Linked DNA regions of Homo sapiens: region 2 is linked to region 1. The links are contacts of gene promoters, found by promoter capture Hi-C in human tissues and cell types (Jung and others, 2019). All regions are on one chromosome and are shown on one strand. Each heading gives the region's core, a stretch centred on a gene start or on the middle of the fragment in contact. The rest is flanking DNA. Distances are from core to core; before and after follow the strand shown. Region 1 holds the start of PCDH17 (protocadherin 17). Region 2 has its middle 190 kb from the start of LINC02338.

What was found. Contacts are between HindIII fragments. The study calls those that stand out against the background at their distance.
Region 2: a contact is called between a fragment that was not itself captured here and the fragment with the promoter of PCDH17 in region 1, in 1 of the 25 tissues and cell types used here (H1 embryonic stem cells).

What each region holds. Positions count from the first base shown.
Region 1 is chr13:57,628,719-57,633,485 of GRCh38, forward strand. PCDH17 (protocadherin 17) reads left to right here and starts at 3,026. Exons shown (of 4, transcript NM_001040429.3): 1 at 3,026-4,767. The coding sequence starts at 3,829. RefSeq lists enhancers at 989-1,574, 3,533-4,212. The HindIII fragment of the contact is 5,195 bases long and covers 1-4,144 here.
Region 2 is chr13:57,969,201-57,974,170 of GRCh38, forward strand. No RefSeq gene overlaps it. Among named protein-coding and RNA genes, the nearest start is that of LINC02338, 190 kb to the right of the region's middle. The HindIII fragment of the contact is 5,221 bases long and covers 1-4,791 here.

The DNA of each region.
Region 1 (4,767 bases), core at 1,776-4,275:
AACTCTTTCTCAGAACGGCTGGATCACGAGCAAACCAGTCTCCAGTTGCAGATGTTTGTGATAATATTTAGGGAAAAAAACCTCTCTGAGATTAGTAAATGAAGTTGGAGAATAAATAGATGAATCAGAAGTCGGCCTGTGTATGTGTGCTTGTGTATGTGGTGTGTGGTGGTGGTGTGTGTGTGTGTGTATATATGTGTGTGTGTGTTATGGCTTACAAAACAGAAATCTTAGATCTCCTAATGATTGGCCTTCGTGTTTTATACTTTTGTTTTCATGGATCTTTAGCAAATGCGGTTATCAATGGCTATTTGATCTTAAGGAGAAAAAATCAAATTGCAATGTGACACTTTAATAACAAGAATGGAGGTGAACAAAACACCGAAACTAGTGTGTGTGTGTGTGTGTGTGTGTGTGTGTGTGTCGGGGGTTGGGGGGTGGGTATCCACTTTACCTTGAACCTGGGCTGAGATGGTGAGGAAGGATGACCAAAAGGGGTAGAACCTTAAGTAGTATTTAGCCGGATTTGAGTTTACAAAGCTTGTATTGACAGTGAGCCTTTCTCCTTAAAGGAGAGGCTCTATTTCTCTTAAGAGACATAGCCTCTCTTTCAACGGGAGTCTGCTTTTCTTCTGAAACACTTTCATAATTAAGTGACTTTCCTTGCATAGGTGCCTGAGGACAGCTGATTTTTCTCAGAGGATGAAGAAAGTTACATATTGATTGCTGTTGCTCGCGGCATGTTCGTACCAGCGCGGGCAGAAACGGGCTCACGAGCGCCCTCGAATTCACACACACTCACCGAAATACACATCTCAGCCCGTGGAAGCGCATTCACACACACCCACGTACACTCCTCCGCACCTCATTCAGATGGGTCCACGCGGAGTCAGGGCTGCGCTTCCCTTGGCATGGGCGTGTGTGCGGCGAGGGCGTGTGTGCGTGCGTGTGTGAGAGTGTGTGTAGAGAAACCCTTTAGGCAGACCGCAGCTACGTTATTCTGCAAGCATACTGCGATTCCCGATTCCGTGTATGTAGGACCACAAAAAAATTAAATCGCTGTTAAACTTTTTTTTGTAAATTCTCTTTTCCGAAGGAAGGCGCTGGAAGAGCTACTCCCGGTGGTTAAAGGCCCGGGAGACCTGGTGGCGAATCCTGGGGCGCGTCCGCTTTGGCGGAGCGCTGGGCTCCGCTAGCCGGACTGGTTCCCCATCTAACTGATCTAATCAATGACTCCGAAGAGCCGGGGCTCCTGGCCCCGCCCCCGCCATCCTCTTCTCCGCCTCCCATTGGACGCGGGCCGAGAAGGCAGGGCCTTGCTCCTCGCTCGGATTGGCTGACAGGGAATCAGTATCAATGTTTAAGCGGCGGCGTGAGGTGAATAGAGTCAGTCAGCAAGAGACGCTGGGGAGAGAGCAGGGATCGCGAGCCCGGCGGATGCGGCAGCGGCGGAAGGCGGCTGGGGAGACGCTACTCCAACTGTTGAATTGAATTTTCACCTTTCCTTTCATCCGCTGCTTTGCTTGCGGAGATGGATTTATTTGCTTTGAAATCCGCATATCTTTCTCAGACTGTGGGGTGATCCCGGCAGACACCAGACTGAAAGAGACCACCCGTGACAGAAAAGGAGGAATTAAAAAAAAAAAAAACCTCCACAACAGACTGCACAATTAACTGTACACATCGATGTTGGACTTTGTGAATAGAAAAAATTGAGAGGAAAATCTTGAACTATGATGCGAGGCTAAGCTGGGAACAATTACTGGAAACCTGATTTTGTTTTTCCTTTTCCAAGACTCTGAAAAATTTCGGGGTACCTCTCGCCTAACCAAGAGGAAAGGTTTAAAAAAAATAAACAAAATAAATAAACCAATACACCTAGCAAAGCAGACGCCTTGTTTTCCAGAACCTCGGACTCCGGCAGAAAGAGGTAGAGTAAAAGTGCTGCTAGATTCAGCTTCACCTTCTTCCCTCCATCCTTTTCTCTTGCATTTTCTTTTTCCCCAAAAACATGAATCTGGTTTTTCTTTCTATAGACTGAGTCAGAGAAAGCGTTAGGAAGAAGCCGCAACTAATGTCTGTGAAGGGAGGACCATGAGGCGAGAGTGAATACGATTCGTTCCGCTGCTTCTGACTCATCCGGCAGATCGGAACACCTGCATTTCTGGATGTGTCATTCCCGTATGTCGAGGCGCCTCCAGAACCCGAAATAATGTGTAGACAGACCTGTGTCTAACATCCCCTCGGAGGGAGCTCCCCGGGGTAGGAGCCCCTGGCTGGACCGCCGCGGCCGCAGCTCTGCACCCCCTGCCCTCCCTGAGTCGCCCAGAAAAACTGAAAGAGAGACTGCAGAATGCATCACGCCAAACCTTGATGTGTTGCTTTCATCCAGCCCACTCCTCCTACTATAAGAGAAAATTGAAGGAAAAAAAAAAACACGTACTTTATTTGCTTCAAATATTCATCACTTTTATTCCTCGCCAAGGTTTTCTTTTCTAGATGAAGAGGACTGGGAGGCAGGGCTATTGGAAGGAGATGCTGAATAGAAAGAAAAGAGGCACTTGACAGCCCAGCCCTGTGAATGCAGAGACTGTTTCCCTTCTAGCGAGAGACAGGGAGAGTGTGTGTGCAAGGACTGGGAGGGAGGCTCCCCCTTCCTTTTTATTCGGCCTCCCCCCTCCTCCTTTAAATGTGCACGTCCAACCATGAGTTGCCTGTTGATTTCCCTTCGCCTGGGAAGAAAAGCAAACTGGAATTAAACTGCTTGGAGAGAAGTCCTTGCTCGCGGGGAGAGGATGGGATGGTAGCGGAGGCTACTGGCTTGGCGTAGAGAAATCAGAGAGTGTGTTCTACGAACAGAGGCGAAGATTTATCTCTCTACTTCCCCCCTCCCAATAGACTCACACAGCAAATGCTGATCAGGCTGTGGCTTTCTTGATTTCGGGGGAGAGCCTTTTCCGAGGAAGAGAGGGAGGAGCCTGGTGGGGAGAGGAAACTACAAATCGGGACACTAGTTCTTTACGCTGCATTTCCTCCCCTCCCTTTGGCTGCTCGGAAAGGAGAGAGAGGAAAAAAAAAATACGCTTGGCTGGTAGATGCAGTCCGCCGCCGCCGCTGCCTCAGCCAGCAATGCAAGATTAGATCTCTAAATGCAGCAAAACACTGCCTGAAAACAGACCGGCCCGCGCAGCAAGCAGACATTTCACGGTGCGCTGGGGAAGCTTCAAAATATATCTGTGACTCTGTCTTCGTTGCTCTTCATCCCCATCAATTTCATCACGGGAGGCGAGCAGCAAGTAAGAATTTCACTTTCGGATCTGCCTAGAGACACACCTCCCTGCTCCCTCCCCCACTCGATGTGAAGAGTATTCCGGAGTCTCCGGGCGGGAGTAGATTTGCAGCACCCTAGCGGGAGCGAGGAAAACCTACTGATTCTTTAGCTCATTATCATCTCTCCCAGACGAGATTTCCTTCTTATCGCCTGCCTCATCGCTCAAGTTTGAGCCTCCCGAAGTCCGGGCGGGAGAGACGAAACCCCTGGCTCACCCCCAGCCGCAGGAAGCCACCGCCTTGCTCCAAGCCCCTGCAGCTCTGCTGCACCGCAGCTTCTCACCCAGTGCGGATGCTGTAGATCAACAGGTTCAGGGAACTTGAGCAGAATAAGGAGAGACCACCGGGTGCCGCAGCTCGGGTGCAGAGGGAAAAAAGGACCCATAGACTTGTGGCTCGCGTCGCGCGCGCACGCTGCGCCAGGGCCCCAGGCTGGCGCGCACTCCCTCTCTGGCTCCTCCAGTCCGATTGCTCCTGCCCCCACCTTACAGGTCTGGGATGTACCTTTCCATCTGTTGCTGCTTTCTTCTATGGGCCCCTGCCCTCACTCTCAAGAACCTCAACTACTCCGTGCCGGAGGAGCAAGGGGCCGGCACGGTGATCGGGAACATCGGCAGGGATGCTCGACTGCAGCCTGGGCTTCCGCCTGCAGAGCGCGGCGGCGGAGGGCGCAGCAAGTCGGGTAGCTACCGGGTGCTGGAGAACTCCGCACCGCACCTGCTGGACGTGGACGCAGACAGCGGGCTCCTCTACACCAAGCAGCGCATCGACCGCGAGTCCCTGTGCCGCCACAATGCCAAGTGCCAGCTGTCCCTCGAGGTGTTCGCCAACGACAAGGAGATCTGCATGATCAAGGTAGAGATCCAGGACATCAACGACAACGCGCCCTCCTTCTCCTCGGACCAGATCGAAATGGACATCTCGGAGAACGCTGCTCCGGGCACCCGCTTCCCCCTCACCAGCGCACATGACCCCGACGCCGGCGAGAATGGGCTCCGCACCTACCTGCTCACGCGCGACGATCACGGCCTCTTTGGACTGGACGTTAAGTCCCGCGGCGACGGCACCAAGTTCCCAGAACTGGTCATCCAGAAGGCTCTGGACCGCGAGCAACAGAATCACCATACGCTCGTGCTGACTGCCCTGGACGGTGGCGAGCCTCCACGTTCCGCCACCGTACAGATCAACGTGAAGGTGATTGACTCCAACGACAACAGCCCGGTCTTCGAGGCGCCATCCTACTTGGTGGAACTGCCCGAGAACGCTCCGCTGGGTACAGTGGTCATCGATCTGAACGCCACCGACGCCGATGAAGGTCCCAATGGTGAAGTGCTCTACTCTTTCAGCAGCTACGTGCCTGACCGCGTGCGGGAGCTCTTCTCCATCGACCCCAAGACCGGCCTAATCCGTGTGAAGGGCAATCTGGACTATGAGGAA
Region 2 (4,970 bases), core at 931-3,430, 340 kb after region 1:
AGAGAAAAGAAAAAAAAAAGAGATGGAGAGAAAGGAGGAAAAGAAGGAAGGATTGCTTTTTGCTTTGATTTTGCCATTGTCTATCTGGGAAACTAGTTAAATCCCCTCTGTCTATGCCCTCTCAATATGAGCTACTATTAAAAATTGAATTTAAATAAAAGTATTTTTCTTAATTCAAATCAACTGCCTCTTCTTTCCTCTTCCTTTTCTCATATGTTGCCCTAGATCAGAGAGAACACAGAATGTCATTAGTAAGCTAACGTTTATGCAATGTAAGGGTAATGGAAGAGGGAAGAACATTTCAGTAGGAAAACCATCAGTTTTCATGTGAATTGCTTTTTTGACTAGTATGCAAGCATTAAGTTTTAGTGAGGTGAATCATGTTAGAATTAAATCCCCTATATATTATTTGTGATGCTTAAAATTGTTTTCAAAAGCATTTCTATCTGGCTTTTCTAATATGTAGCACTTTTAACAATATATCCTGACTTAAATTGATCACACTGAAATTTAAATCAATGCATCTAATTGTGTATATCAACTACTATAGGCAATGTGGTGCCTTGTATGTTGTAAAAAAAAATGTAACAGGAAGAAAAACCAAGCTTCTACTTAGGTCATTGTTATTTTAGAGATAATGGTAAAGAGATTTTTAAAAATGTTAAATTTTGACCTCAGTGCCAGGGATCTTTTATAATAATTAGAAGAAAGAAACAGAAAGAGGTGGGCATTGCATGCCTACCTTACTAATAGTAAATGTCTGTGTCCTCAGGGTTGACCCTCACCTCCCTACTCCACTACATACACAGTTACTTGTTCTACTTTTGTCGGGTTGTAAAACAAATTAAAATCTTTAGCTGTGAATGCTGTGGTTGGCAGAGTTAGAGCAGTAGTAGTTCAAAGAATTCCATCTGGCAAGCAAGCTCTAAAAACAAAAATAAACCTTTTTCCATCTCACAGAAGTCCAGAGAGAGAGATTAATTAAAGTCAATAGAGAAAAAAAAAAAAAAAAAAACACTTCCTAGTATTGTGATGATGTTGAGCTTTTTCCTACCCTCTGATGACAAATTCTTTCTGTTTTTACACTTATGGTCTTTGATAAAACAATAGTCTCTTCAAGTAAAATTCAAACATTACAATATTTATAAATAAATCTCCTTGCTGAACCCATATTTTAGGAATCTTAAAAGAGTTGACAATATGAATTCTGTCACATTTACATATTATACTCTTCTTTCTTATCCAGTTTTAACTTCTGCACAGTCATTAATCTTTGGGGTTGGGTTTATTTTTATGTAAGGTTTAACATTTTTCTTAGTCTCTTGACACCCTGTAGCATTTGCTTACCACATTTTTCCCTTTGAGCTCAAGTACTTATTTAAATGGCATGGATAGCACTAGATATCTCCCACACTATGAGGAAATTTGCATAAACACCCTTAGAAGCCTCTGAAGTTCTTGGTGAACATAACGTTGCTCAGGATAATAGGATGCCTGGACAATGGTTTGTCCTTTGATTCCTGACTTTTAGTTGTGGTTTCAGGATCACTTTAGAAGAACCTAAAATTCCTTTAGGTTTTTGTTTCTGTGAGAAGGAAAAAAAATGCTAAATCAAAGCTCCATAGTGTGCTTTCAGTTCTACATTTTAACAGACACTAAAAGCCAAAGAACCAAACTGTCTCTGAAGTATTGTTGGGTAAGATAGCTGGGGAGGAGGGAATACTGACTGCTTTGTGGTGAAAAAAAGAAATCCAGGGATTCTTTGTGTTGAATGAGATAACATAGCCGTTACATGTTCTCTTACATGGCTAGGAAAAATGACTTTCTTCTCGACTTCTTTTCTTTTCCACCTCTTCCCTTACCTCACCTTATTGGCTCATTTGCTCAGTGGGAGAAAGAGTAGCTGTTATGCAAAGTCCATGATGTAGTGAGGAGAAAATCCTGAGGTTATATTGTATTTTGTAAGATGGTTTTATGTCACCAAATGATGCACAACTGGCAGGATAATTCAGTCTGAAAAATGTATTTCCGTTGTTAAGTTACAAGAGTTCAGGAGAGTAATGATACTTTAACAGCATATGGTTTAATATATTTATTTTGTTTCTTGGTTTTATACACTTGCTTTGATTCAGGTTTTATTTTCATTTTAAAGTATTACGAGATTGTCAAAATACACTTTACATTTTTATTCCTGTTATTTCTAGCTTAAGTCTGCAGTGACTATTACAAAACTGTAAAGATATTTAAAGTCACAAAGGCATTTGTTACACTTCACATCATACTCCAGTACCTCAGATCTTCCTCCCAGCAGCACAGTATGGATTAAAATCATGGATCAATTAAAGTTCAGTTTACTTCCACAATATATCACATCAATACTATCAAGTTGCCTGTGGTGTTAGAAGAGGACTAGCAGTTCAGCATATTGGAAAATGGAAAAAATTCCTTTGTTTTCTTCTTCCTTTCTCAGTTTGAAAGTAAACCAGACTGTTTTACAGAAGTGAGCAAAGCTTAAATATGTTTTGATAGTTGTATTAGTCTGTTCTCATGCTGCTAATAAAGACATAACTGAGACTGGGTAATTTATAAAGGAAAGAACTTTAATGAACTCACAGTTCCACATGGCTGGGGAGGCTTCACAATCATGGCAGATGAAGGAAGAGCAAAGGGACATCTTACATGGCAGCATGCAAAAAGAGCATGTGGAAGGAAACTCCCCTTTATAAAACTACCAGATCTCATGAAACTTATTCACTATCATGAGAACAGAAGAGGAAAGACCAACCCCATGATTTGATTGCCTCCCACGAGGTCCCTCCCACAACACAAGGCAGCTACAATTCGAGATTTGGGTGGGGACAGAGACAAACCATATCATTCCCTCCCTGGCTCCTCCCAAATCCCATGTCATCAGATTTCAAAACCAATCATGCCTTCAAACAGTCCCCCAAAGTCTTAACTCATTTCAGCATTAACTCAACATCCACAGTCCAAAGTCCAAAGTCTCATCTGAGACAAGGCAAGTCCCTTCTGCCTATAAGCCTTGTATTAGTCTGTTTTCATACTGCTGATAAAGACATACCTGAGACTGGCAAGACATACCTGAGACATACCTGAGACTGGACGAAAGAAAGAGGTTTATTGGGCTTACATTTCCACATGGCTAGGGAGGCCTCACTATCATGGTGAAAGTTGAGGAGGAGCAAGTTACATGTTACATGGATGGCAGCAGGCAAAGAGAGAGCTTGTGCAGAGAAACTCCCATTTTTAAAACCATCAGATCTCACAGGACTCATTCGCTATTAGGAGAACAGCACAGGAAAGACCACATAATACAATTACCTTTCACAGGGTTCCTCCCACAACATGTGAGAATTGTGGGAGTTACAATTCAAGATGAGATTTGGGTGGGGGCACAGCCAAACTATATCAAGCCTGAAAAATCAAAAGCAAGTTAGTTACTTCCTAGATACAACAGGAGTATAGGCATTGGGTAAATACAGCCATTCCAAATAAGAGAAATTGGCCAAAACAAAGGGGCTGTAGGCCTCATGCAAGTCCAAAATCCAACAGGGTAGTCAAATCTTAAAGCTCTGAAGTGATTTCCTTTGACATCATGTCGCATATCCAGGTCACGCTGATGCAAGAGGTGGGCTCCCATGGCCTTGGGCATCTCTGCCTCTGTGCCTTTGCAGGGTAAAGGCTCCCACCTGGCTGCTTTCATGGGCTGGCATTGAGTGTGTCTGCAGCTTTTCCAGGTGCACAGTGCAAGCTGTCTGTGGATCTACCATTCTGGGGTCCGGGGAACCATGGGCCTCTTCTCACAGCTGCACTAGGCAATGCCACAGTGGTGTCTCTATGTGGGGGTTCTTACCCCACATTTCCCTTCCACACTGACCAACAGATGTTCTCCATAAGGGCTCCACCCCTACAGCACACCTCTGCCTGAACATCCAGGCATTTCCATACATCCTCTGAAATCTAGGCAGAAGTTCCCAAACTCAGTTCTTGACTTCCGTGTACCCACAGGCTCAACACCACATGAAAGCTGCCAAGGCTTGAGGCTTGAACCCACTAAAGCCACAGTCCACACTGTATCTTGGCTCCTTTTAGCCACAGCCGAAACGCCTGGGATGCAGGGCACCAACTCCAAAGGCTGCTTATAGCAGGTGGGCCCTGGACCCAGCCCAGAAAACCATTTTTCCCTCCTAGGCCTCTGGGCCTGTGATGAGAGGGGCTTCCATAAATGTACTTGACATGCCCTGGGAATATATTCCCCATTGTCTCAGTGGTTAACATTGATTCCTTGCTACTTATGCAAATGTCTGCCACTGACCTGAATTTCTCCCCAGAAAATGGGTTTTTCTTTTCTATTCCATTGTCAGGCTGGAAATTTTCCAAACTTTTATGCTCTGCTTCCTCTCGAATGCTTTGCTGCTTAGATATTTCTTCCCCTGGATACCCTAAATCATCTCTCTCAAGTTCAAAGTTCTATGGATCTCTAGGGAAGGAGTAAAATGGTGCCAGTGTCTTTGCATAGCAAGAGTGATCTTTACTCCAATTCCCAACAAGTTCCACATCTCCATCTGAAACCACCTTAGCCTGGAAGTTATTATCTATATCACTATCAGCACTTTTATCAAAGTCTCTAGGAAGTTTCAAACTTTCCTACATTTTTCTATATTCTTCTGAACCCTCCAAACTGTTCCAACATCTGCCTGTTACCCAAATTTCCAAAGTTGCTTCCATATTTTCATGTATCTTTAAAGCAGCACCCCACTTTACTGGTACCAATTTCCTGTATTGCTCTCATGCTGCTAATAAAGACATACCTGAGACTGGGTAATTTATAAAGGGAAAGAGGTTTAATGGACTCACAGTTCCACATAGCTGGGGAGGCCTCACAATCATGGCAGAAGATGAAGGAAGAGCAAAGGGATGCCTTATATGATGGCAGGCAAGAGAGAGCA